Regions from separate parts of the Homo sapiens genome. Here all the other regions are linked to region 2. Evidence: promoter capture Hi-C in 16 types of primary human blood cells and fetal thymus (Javierre and others, 2016). All regions are on one chromosome and are shown on one strand. The core of a region is centred on a gene start or on the middle of the fragment in contact, and the rest is flanking DNA. Distances in the headings are between cores, read along the strand shown.

Evidence for each region. Contacts are between HindIII fragments. The CHiCAGO score rates a contact against its expected background, and 5 or more counts as called.
Region 1: the fragment with the promoter of CPNE9 here is called in contact with the fragment with the promoter of CIDEC in region 2 in 5 of 17 cell types (monocytes, erythroblasts, neutrophils and 2 more); the score reaches 7.4 in monocytes.
Region 3: a contact is called between the fragment with the promoter of FANCD2OS here and the fragment with the promoter of CIDEC in region 2, in 5 of 17 cell types (activated CD4 T cells, monocytes, erythroblasts and 2 more). The highest score is 8.8, in activated CD4 T cells.

Annotation. Positions count from the first base shown.
Region 1 is chr3:9,701,541-9,705,193 of GRCh38, forward strand. CPNE9 (copine family member 9) reads left to right here and starts at 2,293. Exons shown (of 21, transcript NM_153635.3): 1 at 2,293-2,524; 2 at 3,047-3,087; 3 at 3,209-3,255; 4 at 3,351-3,454. The coding sequence starts at 2,457. It overlaps MTMR14 (myotubularin related protein 14), which reads left to right. Exons shown (of 19, transcript NM_001077525.3): 19 at 250-853. The coding sequence ends at 433. RefSeq lists an enhancer at 1,932-2,842. The HindIII fragment of the contact is 18,760 bases long and covers 1,576-3,653 here.
Region 2 is chr3:9,878,550-9,882,420 of GRCh38, forward strand. CIDEC (cell death inducing DFFA like effector c) reads right to left here and starts at 1,704. Exons shown (of 7, transcript NM_001321142.2): 1 at 1,675-1,704; 2 at 393-505. The HindIII fragment of the contact is 5,760 bases long and covers 1-1,861 here.
Region 3 is chr3:10,106,930-10,110,663 of GRCh38, forward strand. FANCD2OS (FANCD2 opposite strand) reads right to left here and starts at 1,326. Exons shown (of 2, transcript NM_001164839.2): 1 at 1,086-1,326. The HindIII fragment of the contact is 5,627 bases long and covers 1-3,734 here.

The sequences.
Region 1 (3,653 bases), core at 1,043-3,542, 180 kb before region 2:
TTAGTGTCCCAGTAAAAGCTCCTGCTCTAGGTGGGAACAGTAGCCTGAGGGCTTAGAGGAATGGTTTAAGGGAAAACAGGGCCAGATATTTGGGGCCTGAACCACAAGGATAGCATGGCCGTAGGACAGACACTGGCCTTGTACAGTCAGAAGAAGCACAAGGACAGGTGGTATGGAGGGAGGGAGGATGAGGATACTGGGTCCTGTCCCAGGGTAATGTCTTTGTTCTTTCTCTTGACCTCCCCATAGGCTTGCAGCCCTGAGTGATCGAGAGACTCGGCTGCAGGAGGTGCGCTCAGCCTTCTTGGCTGCGTACAGCAGCACAGTGGGGCTTCGGGCAGTAGCCCCCAGTCCTTCCGGTGCCATCGGGGGCCTGCTGGAGCAATTTGCCCGTGGTGTTGGACTCCGGAGCATCAGCAGCAATGCCTTGTGAAGAAGCCAGCCCATGACATTTTCCTGCTCCTCTCTCAGCTGAGCCCTTAGCAGAGAATCAAAGCCATGCCTGGCCGAAGGGGTACTTCCAGGTCAGGGGAAATTTCAGTCCCCCATCTCCATCATGAACATGGCAGCCCCAAAGCTGAGCAAGGCCAAAGACAGGGTTTTCCAACCCCCAGCCTCTTGACTGGTGACCACCACCCCTTCTTGTCACTGTCTCCCACCCACCCCATCTTTGCTGGGATTCCCATCAACTCTCAGAACTGTGTGGGGTTTCCCTGGGGCCTTGTGGAAGCCATGACTTCACAAAGACCCTACCTGTCAGTTCTTGTTTCTGGGGAGGAGGGATCACCTGCACTGAGAATGAGGCAGTTTGACACAGATCACAAAATAAAATCAAAGTCTTTTTGAATAGCCACTCTTGTGTCATCATTTGGTTATTGTCTTTGTGGAGCTACTAGGAAGGTTCTCATTGTCCTTCCTTGTGCTGGACAAGGGGTTTTTATGTGGAGGGCAGGTGAAACAGGAAGAGAACTGGCGACAGGTATACCTCTCCACTCATGAGCCATGGTAGTCCCTGCAGTGGGGACAACACTCAAGACTGTTGAGAGTAGTGGTTCTCGGGCCTAAGCAGGTCCTAGTCACCTAGAGAGCCTGATGAGCTGTGCACATTCCCAGGGCTGCCTGAGCTTTAGCCTTAGGGTTGCTAAGGAAGTTGCCTGGGAATTAGGAGCTGGAGGATCTTCATTTTTTTCAGATTTTTTGAGATGGAGTCTCACTGTTACCCAAGCTGGAGTGCAATGGCACAATCTTGGCTCACTGCAACCCCTGCCTCCTGGGTTCAAGCGATCCTCCTGCCTCAGTCTCCTGAGTAGCTACGTGAACGTGCCACCATCCCCAGCTAATTTTTGTATTTAGTAGAGATGGGGTTTCACCATGTTGGCCAGGCCAGTCTCAAACTCCTGAGCTCAAGTGATCTGCCTGCCTTGGCCTCCTAAAGTGCTGGGATTACAGGCATGAGCCACCGTACCTGACCAGGATCTTCATCTTTAACAAGTTCTGTAGGCAGCAGGGTCCTGGTACGGGTGACCTGCATCCCCTACCTTGAGCCCTGCCTATGGAGGAAGGACTGGCTTCTGAAGCTTTGGAGATAGCAATTGGTGTGCATGTGTGGTGGGTGAGAGCCTGGCTGACCACCACCCTCTTCTACAGTGTAACCTACAGTAGATTGCGTCATGAGAGTGTGTCCGCATCTGTAACGCCATGAAAGTCGTGAGGGTTAAAGGCATGGGCAGACAGCTTTGCACGGTGCTCAACAGCCACCATTTACTGTCATCATTGTGAATACCCAGAGGACAAATCATAAATACCAGTGAATGTTTACTGAGCACTTGCTGTGTGCTAAGTGTTTTCCTTGGGTTATCTCAGTAAAATTTTACAGCACCTAAAGTAGCTGCTGTTAAAGGCCTTTCTGACGGCCTTTCACGGTTGAGCCACAGAGATGTTGAGTAACTTGTCCAAGGTCACACAGCTACTAAGAGATGTACTTTTCCTATTCAGAGACCTAGGCAGGCTGGGAGTGGGAAAAGACAGAAACACTAAGGGAGTGGCTCAGTAAGAGGCAACAATTCCAGTGCCCACCAGGTGCCCCAAATGTTTCAGCATCATGGACAACTCTAGGGGGCTTGGGTTTCCACCCCAGAGACTTGCGCAGGGCAGACTCTACCAAGGTGTGGGTTGGAGTTGGGAGTCGGGGTGAGGTTCCCCGCTGGCTCCAGGCTGCTCCAATGGGGCGGGGGCCGCCCGCAGGGCCGGGCGGGGCTGTGCTGCCATCTGGAGCCGCTGCCGCCGGCGGCCACTGTCAGGGCGCGAGCGGCTGGAGCGCACGCAGGGCTGGAGCGAGTGCAGCCGCCGCCGCCGCCGACACCGCGGCACATGGGCCGGCCCCGCCGCTGCCGTCGCCCCTAGCCCCAGCAGCCCTGGTCTCGCAGCCTCCTGCGGCTCTGGTCGCCCGACCAGCCATGTCTCTCGGCGGAGCCTCCGAGCGCAGCGTCCCGGCCACCAAGATTGAAATTACCGTGTCCTGCCGGTGAGCGGGCCGCGCTGGGGAGGGCTTAGGCACTGGCACTGCCCCAGCCCCAGCCAGCCGCGGGGCTCAGCCTGGGCAGGGGCTAGACCCCCGGGGAGAGGCGAAATTGGCTGGAAAATCACAGCTGATGACAGGGCGAGTAGCTGGTGGGATCGAGAAGCGGGGGGTCTTGGGCAGCCCCACCCCGAAAAAAGGGCTCAGCCTGCGGGTTCAGGGGGTGGGTCGCAGATATCCGGTAGGAGCTCGGCCCCAGGAGGACAAAGTTCTGGGGCGAGCCCTCTTTCCTGGGCCCTTGGAGACAGTGTGGGTGCGTTCGCGTCCAGTCCGCAGAGCCATGGTTCCTGGACAGCGATTTCCGGTGCTGTCCAGAGTGCTGACAGAGCGGACCCCGGCTGGGGGTAGCCATGGGGGACAGAGGTTCGATGCGGGCCCCATGCCTCTCCTCAGTGCCCGGCTCAGAGCCGACTCGAGGCGGGCGGACTCCAGGATGATCCACTCTGTCTGTCTGTTGCTTTTCTCTAGGAACCTGCTAGACCTTGATACCTTCTCCAAGTCCGACCCCAGTAGGCGGCTCCAGGACCGGGAGGGGGAACTTGGGGTCTGGGCGCGACTCAGGGGCGGGTGGAGTCGGGGCCAGGGGTGGGAGCCGACCTGACGTCCTTCCCTCCCCGCCCCCACCTGCAGTGGTGGTGCTTTACACGCAGAGCCGGGCCAGCCAGGAGTGGCGGGAGGTGAGTCCCAGAGCCCCCTCCCGGCCCAGGGCGTCGCCCGGGAATTCCCCTGCCCGTCTGCACGTCCCACGCTGACCCTCCACCCCCCTACCCAGTTCGGACGGACCGAGGTGATTGATAACACGCTGAACCCAGACTTCGTGCGCAAATTCGTCCTCGACTATTTCTTTGAGGAAAAGCAAAATCTGCGCTTCGATGTGTGAGGCCCCGCCTGGAATTCTGGCTTGGCCCGCCCCCGACCTGGATCCGCCCGGAATTCTGGCTGGCCCCACCCCCGCCTCGCCTCCGGCCTGGTTCTTCTCGCAGGCCTCCCTCCCATTCTGAATGGCCCCCTCTAGCCTGAGCCCTGCCCTTTTATGAGATGCGGTCCAGTTCCGTCCCCCGCTCTGGCCCCGCCC
Region 2 (3,871 bases), core at 454-2,953:
AGAGGGTTCCCATCTCTCTCATTGTTAGGCAAGGTGCAACCCAACCCCTGTTCAGCAACCTTCCTCCCTATTCTTCTATCCCAACTCACACATACCTCCCCCAGCCCTTCTCCTGTCCGGCCCCATGCATGCCAACCAAGACCAAGCTGGAGACCCCACCCCTCTCCCCACCGGGTGCTCAGGCTCAGCCTCACTCAGCAGCTGCTGCTCCTGCCCCAGTCCCACTCACTCCATGTTTCTCATCCCCTGGCTCTGGTCACACTGAGCAGATAACCCAACTCAGGGCTGAAGAAGCCTTGCCCGATTTGTTCCTGTCCATGGGGACAGAGTCCACTTTACGCTGGCAGGAGGTGAGTCACACCACCTCACACTTCTGGGGACCGTTCCCTCACCTCTAGTCCAGAGACCTCACAGGCAGGCAGCCCAGTCAAAGCCTCCTCTCTCCCATGGGTCCTTGAGCAATCCGAGCCCCTTCCTGAGGCTTCACAGTGGCCAAAAGAACATTCTGTGATGATAGAGGCATGCCTTGTACATACTCTCCAATACCATTGCTACTAGCCCCATGTGGCTATTGAGTATTTGAAACATAACTAGTGTGATTCAGGAGCTGAATTTTTTTTTTTTTTGAGTTTCGCTCTTGTCACCCAGGCTGGAGTGCAATGGGGCGATCTTGCTCACTACAACCTCCGCCTCCTGGGTTCAAGCAATTATCCTGCCTCAGCCTCCCCCGTAGCTGGGATTACAGGCACCTGCCACCACGCCCAGCTAATTTTTAGTTTAGTTTCGTTTTGTTTGGATTTTTAGTAGAGACTGGGTTTCACCATGTTGGCTAGGCTGGTCTTGAACTCCTGACCTCAGGTGATCTCCCTGTCTTGGCCTCCCAAAGTGCGGGGATTACAGGCGTGAGCCACTGCACCTGGCACAGGAGCTGTATTTTTTACTTTATTGAATTTTAACTAATTTAAATTTAAATAGCCACATTGCCATGTGGCTGTTGGCACCCATATTAGATCACAGGTCTAAGCAGATAGCCCTGGGCTCATCTGTCACCACTTTTTCTCCTAAACCTCTGTGCTCCAACTCTTGAAGGGCCCAACCCTTTGCACAGATAGTTCCCTCCACCTGTAGTGCCCTTCTCTGATCCAGGACGAAATTTTTGCAGCCTTGAAGCCTCAGTTTCATTGCTTTCCACTCTTTAAAAGGAAAGTCTTCTTAGACCACTCCCAAAATTATTACACCTTCATCCTGCTCTTCCTAGCCAAGGGTGCCTCTGGGTCTGTTTCTGCTGTAGCCCCTCAGTCCCTGGATGCCTGGCCCTGAGGTCCTCTTCCTATTCGAAGCTCCCGGCACAGGTAGGGCTTCGCAGAGCAAGGGGCACAAGGGGTGGACATAAAACAAAAGTCCCCTTGCCAGCTGGGGACAATCACTCTTTGCTTTTAACAATTTGGGGGACTTTCCAGACCAGGCCCCACAGAGGCAGAAAGCCCCTTTCCCACTTAGCACTGCAGAAGCTCTAGTCCTAGCTACGTGGGAGGCTGAGGCAGGAGGATTCTGCTTGCCTCAGCCTCACCCACTTCGTATCCCTAGCAAAACTCTGCCAAGAGCTACCTAACCTGCTCTCCAGGAGCAAAGAAAAAAAAATCCCCAAACCCAAAACAATAACAAACTCCTTACCTCCCCCTCACAGCCTCCTGGAAATACTGCCCTGTCCCGCCCAGCCCTCCCTTCATTTATTTCCAGCCCCCATGAAGCTCCTCCCCAGCCTTCAGCCCCAGCTGGGGAAAAGAGCTTGGGGTGAGAGCTGCAAGCCAGCCTGACTTCCAGAAAAGGCCTAAAAGGAGGGGAGAAGGCATGTTTCGAAAGCTTTGGCAAAATGGATGGCCCATGACATGAGATCAAGCACAGAGGGCACAGAAAGCAGGCAGATGTGGGTTGTGGTCCCAACTCCACCCCATATCAGCTTGCTTGAGCTTAGACAGATCACTTGACTTCTGTGAGCCCGTTTCTCTTCTCTGTGTAATGACGATAATGATTCTTGTTTTATAGGGTAGTGGTGAGGATTAGTGACAATAAAAGTAAAGGGGCACAGTGGCTCATGCCTATAATCCCAGTGTTTTGGGAGGCTGAGGCGGGAGGATTGCTTGAGGACAGGGGTTGGAGGACAGCCTGGGCAATAGAGTGAGACCCTGTCTCTGAAAAAAAAAAAAAAAAAGAAAAGAAAAGAAAAAAGAAAAAAGTAGCCTGGGTGCCGTGGCTCACGCCTGTAATCCCAGCACTTTGGGAGGCCGAGGCAGGTGGATCACTTGAGGTCAGGAGTTTGAGACCAGCATGGCCAACATGGTGAAGCCCCGTCTCTACTAAAAATAGAAAAATGAGCCAGGCGTGGTGGTGTGTGCCTGTAATCCCAGCTATCTGGGAGGCTGAGGCAGGAGAATCGCTTGAGCCTGGGAGGCAGAGGTTGCGGTGAGCTTAGATCACACCACTGCACTCCATTCTGGGTGACAGAGTGAGACCCTGTCTCAAAAAAAAAAAAAAAAAAAAAAAAGTCCGGGCACGGTGGCTCACACCTCTAATCCCAGAACTTTGGGAGGCCGAGGTGGGCAGATCACAAGGTCAAGAGTTCGAGACCAGCTTGGTCAATATGGCGAAAACCCCATCTCTACTAAATATACAAAAATTAGCCGTGCGTGGTGGTGGGTGCCTGAAATCCCAGCTACTCAGGAGGCTGAGGCAGGAGAATCATTTGAACCCGGGAGGCAGAGGTTGCAGTGAGCCGAGATCACGCCACTGCACTCCAGCCTGGGTGACAGAGTGAGACTCTGTCTCAAAAAAATAAAAATAAATAAAAATAAAGGCTTTGCAAACATAAACACTCAATGGATCGAAGTGATTATTAGTATTACTGATAATTTTTTATTTTTATTTTATTATTTTTAATTTTTTTGTCTTTTTCTCAATTTGATAATGTACATATTAAATCATAGCAGAGAGTAAGACAAGCTGAAATGTGGAGTGGTTAAGAGTGTAAGATCTCTGACCCAGCAGTTCCACTTCTGTGTGTGTGCGTGTGGTGTATGTGTGTCATACAGAGCACACCTGTTGTCCCAGCTGCTCAGAAGGAGGCTGATGCAGGAGGATCACTTGAGCCCAGGAATTAAAATTTAGCCTGAGTAACATAGGGAGACCCTGTCTTTACAAAAGAAAAGAAACAAAACCAAAACCAAACAAAATTACATATATATGTGTATATATATACACACACACATATATATATACACATACATATCCAAAAGAAATGAAAAATATGTCTACACAAAAACTTGTATGTGAATATCCATAGGATTATTCGTAATAGCCAAAAGGTAGAAACACATGAATGTTCAATTTATAAATCGATTTTTTAAATGTGCCTATCCATACATGGCATATTATTTATCAAAAAGGATCCATACTACCACATGGAGGAACCTTGCAAACAGTACAGAAAGTAGACAAAGCCAGTCACAGGAATCATATACATATTGTATGATTCCACTTATATGAAATGTCTAGAATAGGCAAATCTATATAAAGACAAAGTAGGGCCGGGCGCGGTGGCTCACGCCTGTAATCTCAGCACTTTGGGAGGCTGAGGTGGGCGGATCACGAGGTCAGAAGATCGAGACCATCCTGGCTAACACGGTGAAACCCGGTCTCTACTAAAAATACAAAAAATTAGCCGGGCGTGGTGGCGGGCGCCTGTAGTCCCAGCTACTCGGGAGGCTGAGGCAGGAGAATGGCGTGAACCCGGGAGGCGGAGCTTGCAGTGAGCCGAGATCGCACCACTACACTCCAGCCTTGGGCGACAGAGCGAGACTCCGCCTCCAAAAAA
Region 3 (3,734 bases), core at 76-2,575, 230 kb after region 2:
TTTCAGACCAGAAGACCTGCTCCTGACAATGGTTAGTATAGGGGGATTTGTTGATTTTCTCCAACTAGTATGTTTCTCATGATCTATGTAGGCTCTTTGCAAAGTACTAAGTGTTCAAATATCTGGGCTGCCTTAGAATGAGAAAGGGACACCCAAGGGACAGTTATCTATTCCAAACACCCTGTGAAAGGCTTCTGGTGCTTGATATCTTGACCTTCAGAGCACATATCCAAGAGAGGGACTACTGTGGTACACCACCATGGCAAGGTGGGCGGAGGGTATGAATGCTGTCAAGCATATTTTTAATCCCAGAATATGGGATTTAAAAAAGTATTTAATCCCAGGATCCTTTTCTTTCTTTCTTTCTTTTTTTTTTGAGACAGAGCCTTGCTCTGTCACTCAGTCTGGAGTGCAGTGGCGCGATCTCCGCTCACTGCAAGCTCCGCCTCCCGGGTTCACGCCATTCTCCTGCCTCAGCCTCCCGTAGCTGGGACTACAGGCGCCTGCCACCACGCCCGGCTAATTTTTTTGTATTTTCAGTAGAGACAGGGTTTCACCGTGTTAGCCAGGATGGTCTCGATCTCCTGACCTCGTGATCCGCCCGTCTCGGCCTCCCAAAGTGCTGGGATTACAGGCGTGAGCCACCGGGCCCGGGCCCCCCGGATCCTTTTCTTGCCACATCTTCTAAGAGGAAGTAGAGGTAGAAGTAAAAGTCTTTGTCAAATGTCCAGCCTAGGTCGCGGCGCGGTGGCTCAGGCCTGCAATCACAGCACTTTGGGAGGCCAAGGCGGGCCAATCACTTGAGGTCAGGAGTCAGCCTAAATATTCGGCAGAACCAACATGGGACGAGAGCGCTTCTAAACCTAGGTCCCTGCACCTCTTCGCACAAAGTTTAAAGATGGTTCACCCCATCCCCACCGCCCAGAAGTCACTGTCAACCACTCCAGAAGGGCTTGAACCTACAAAGTCTGCTCAAGCTGCTCAATAGCTCCCAGATATGGAACACCTGATTCTCCTGGCCAAAAAGGTTTCCCCTTCACACCCCACTTCCCATTCCAAGGAACCCCATCTCTTGATTTCCCCACCTGGGAAACAGGGCGTTAGCGCCAAAGTGCAGCTGAGGTCCTGAACTGTAAACGGAGATCCCGAGGGTCTGGAGCTGCCGAGAGTGCGAGAGGCTCCCACTCCCCGCCGGAAGAAGGGGCTTGGGCCTCCTGGGTCCCTATCCGGGGGCGGGGACCAGAAGGTTCTGGCTGAGGCGGACGATGCGGTGGGAACCTGGGCCCAGTCCCACCATCCGGGCCCGGGGCTCACCTGCTGAACTCTGAGGGTCTCACGCTCCAAAGTGGCGGCCGCTGTTCGTGGCGCCTGGCAACCGCCTTTGTGACCCAGGACGGCAGGGCAGCCCGAGCCGCGGCGGGGATGGGGGCTCGAGGCGCCCTACTGGGAGGCGTCAGGGCCACACTCCCCGCCCCCACCTCATTGGAATGCCTTGTCCAGGACTTGGCCTTCAGGAGGGCTGGTCCGAATCCTGTCCCCTCCATTGTCCTCCTCCCTACCGTGCCACACCTGTGTACCTGTGTGCCTTTGATCAAGCCACAGAGGACAGGCGACCCCTACTTCAATGGCCATGGTCAGAGGCCTGCATAAAAGTCCCAGGACCTGTAGTTAGTGTTAAAAGTTAGTCCCAACTCATCACACTCTGCTCAGTGGGTGCTCAGGCAGAGTGACCCAGAGCTCTGTCAGGTTTTGTTGCTCTATTTGAATGATCCCAGTGGCAAAGAAAGAGAATTAATAAATGTTCACCTGTCAAGAGCAGGAGGAAACGCACGTCTTTCCTTGATTTCCTGACAGAAAACCTTTCTCAGCCTTGCGTTAAACCTGAGAGTACCTGTAATCCCAGCTATCTAGGTGGCTGAGATGGGTAGACTGCTTGAGCCCAGGAGTTCAAGACCAGTCTGGGCAACGTAGTGAGATTCCCAGCTCAAAAAGAAAACAAAAAAATCTCAAAAAGAATGATTTTGTCTCATTCTTATAATGCAGAAATACACTTTCGCCATATTAGTGAAGGAGTGATTTGACAACTTTGTAATCATCACTTAAAATAATGACCCTGGATGGCTGAGGGAAGGGAGGAGTCTACCCAGCTGATGTCTGTATTCCCAGTACCTGGCTATTGCCATGTCTGGCAGTGTGCAGTATTTGTGGGAGGAAGTAACTAATGGCCTACTTGGCCTTCCCTTGTACACCCAGAATTGCCCTTGCATTTTACAAACTATAGAACACACACCACAAATAAGACTTGTCACCTTTGTTCTGGTTTTTTGGGTAAAGCTGATGGAGAAAGACTGAGGGTCTGAGAATAGAGTCAGGCAAGATCCTGATTTAGAAGACACACACCCACTGTGTGTACATGTGCACCTTTTGGAAGAAGAGGTAAGTGGAGAAGAGTCTGGAGGGCATGTCGGGTCAGAACATGAAGAGAGAGGCACAGAATAGTGAGACTTGGAAGAGACACAAATGATTTTGAATTACAAAACTTTTTTCCCCAGTTAGTTCATTTTTATTTCCCTCTTTTTTTTTCTTTCTTTTTTTGAGACGGAGTCTCACCGTGTCACCCAGGCTGGAGTGCAGTGGCTTGATCTTGGGTCACTGCAACCTTCACCTCCTGGGTTCAAGCGATTCTCCTGTCTCAGCCTCCCGAGTAGCTGGGATTACAGGCGCGTGCCACCAGGCCCAGCTAATTTTTGTGTTTTTAGTAGAGACGGGGTTTCCCATGTTGGCCAGGCAGGTCTCGAACTCCTGACCTCGTGACCTGTGCACCTCGGCCTCCCAATGTGGTGGGATTACAGGCGTGAGCCACCACACTGGCTTTATTTCCCTCTTGAATAAAAAAGACTTTTTTTTTTGAGATGGAGTCTCACTCTGTCACCCAGACTGGAGTGCAGTGGCGTGATCTCCACTCATTGCAAGCTCTGCCTCCCGGGTTCACACCATTCTCCTGCCTCAGCCTCCTGAGTAGCTGGGACTACAGGCACCAGCCACCACGCCCGGCTAATTTTTTTGTATTTTTAGTAGAGACGGGGTTCACTATGTTGGCGAGGATGGTCTCGAACTCCTGACCTCGTGATCCGCCCGCCTCGGCCTCCCAAAGTGCTGGGATTACAGGCTTGAGCCACCGAGCCCGGCTGACATTTTTATTTTAAAAGAAAACAGTCGTTTTCATTTAGGTTTTAATTGCACAGTGGTTTTTGTTTTGTTTTGTTTTTTAAATGAAAGTCCTCAATGCAAAATTGTATGTTTAAAAATTATTGGATAGATAGAGCTTCATACTGTTATAAGAATTTGGGCTGGGTGCAGTGGCTCACGCCTGCAATCCTAACACTTTGGGAGGCCGAGGCGGGTGGATCACCTGAGGTCACAAGTTCAAGACCAGCCTGGCCAACGTGGTGAAATCCCATCTCTACTAAAAATACAAAAATTAGCCAGGCGTGATGGTGGGCGCCTGTAATCCCAGCTACTCGGGAGGCTGAGGCAGGAGAATCGCTTGAACCCGGGAGGCGGAGGTTGCAGTGAGCCGAGATCGTGCCATTGCACTCCAGCCTGGGCGACAGAGCGATACTTCGTCTGGGAAAAAAAAAAAAAAAAGAATTTGTACAATAGTCCCCTGTGCAGTCTGCCCAGCTCTAAAGGATGTGTTCTCAGAAGTGCCATTCACCATCACCTCCAAGTCT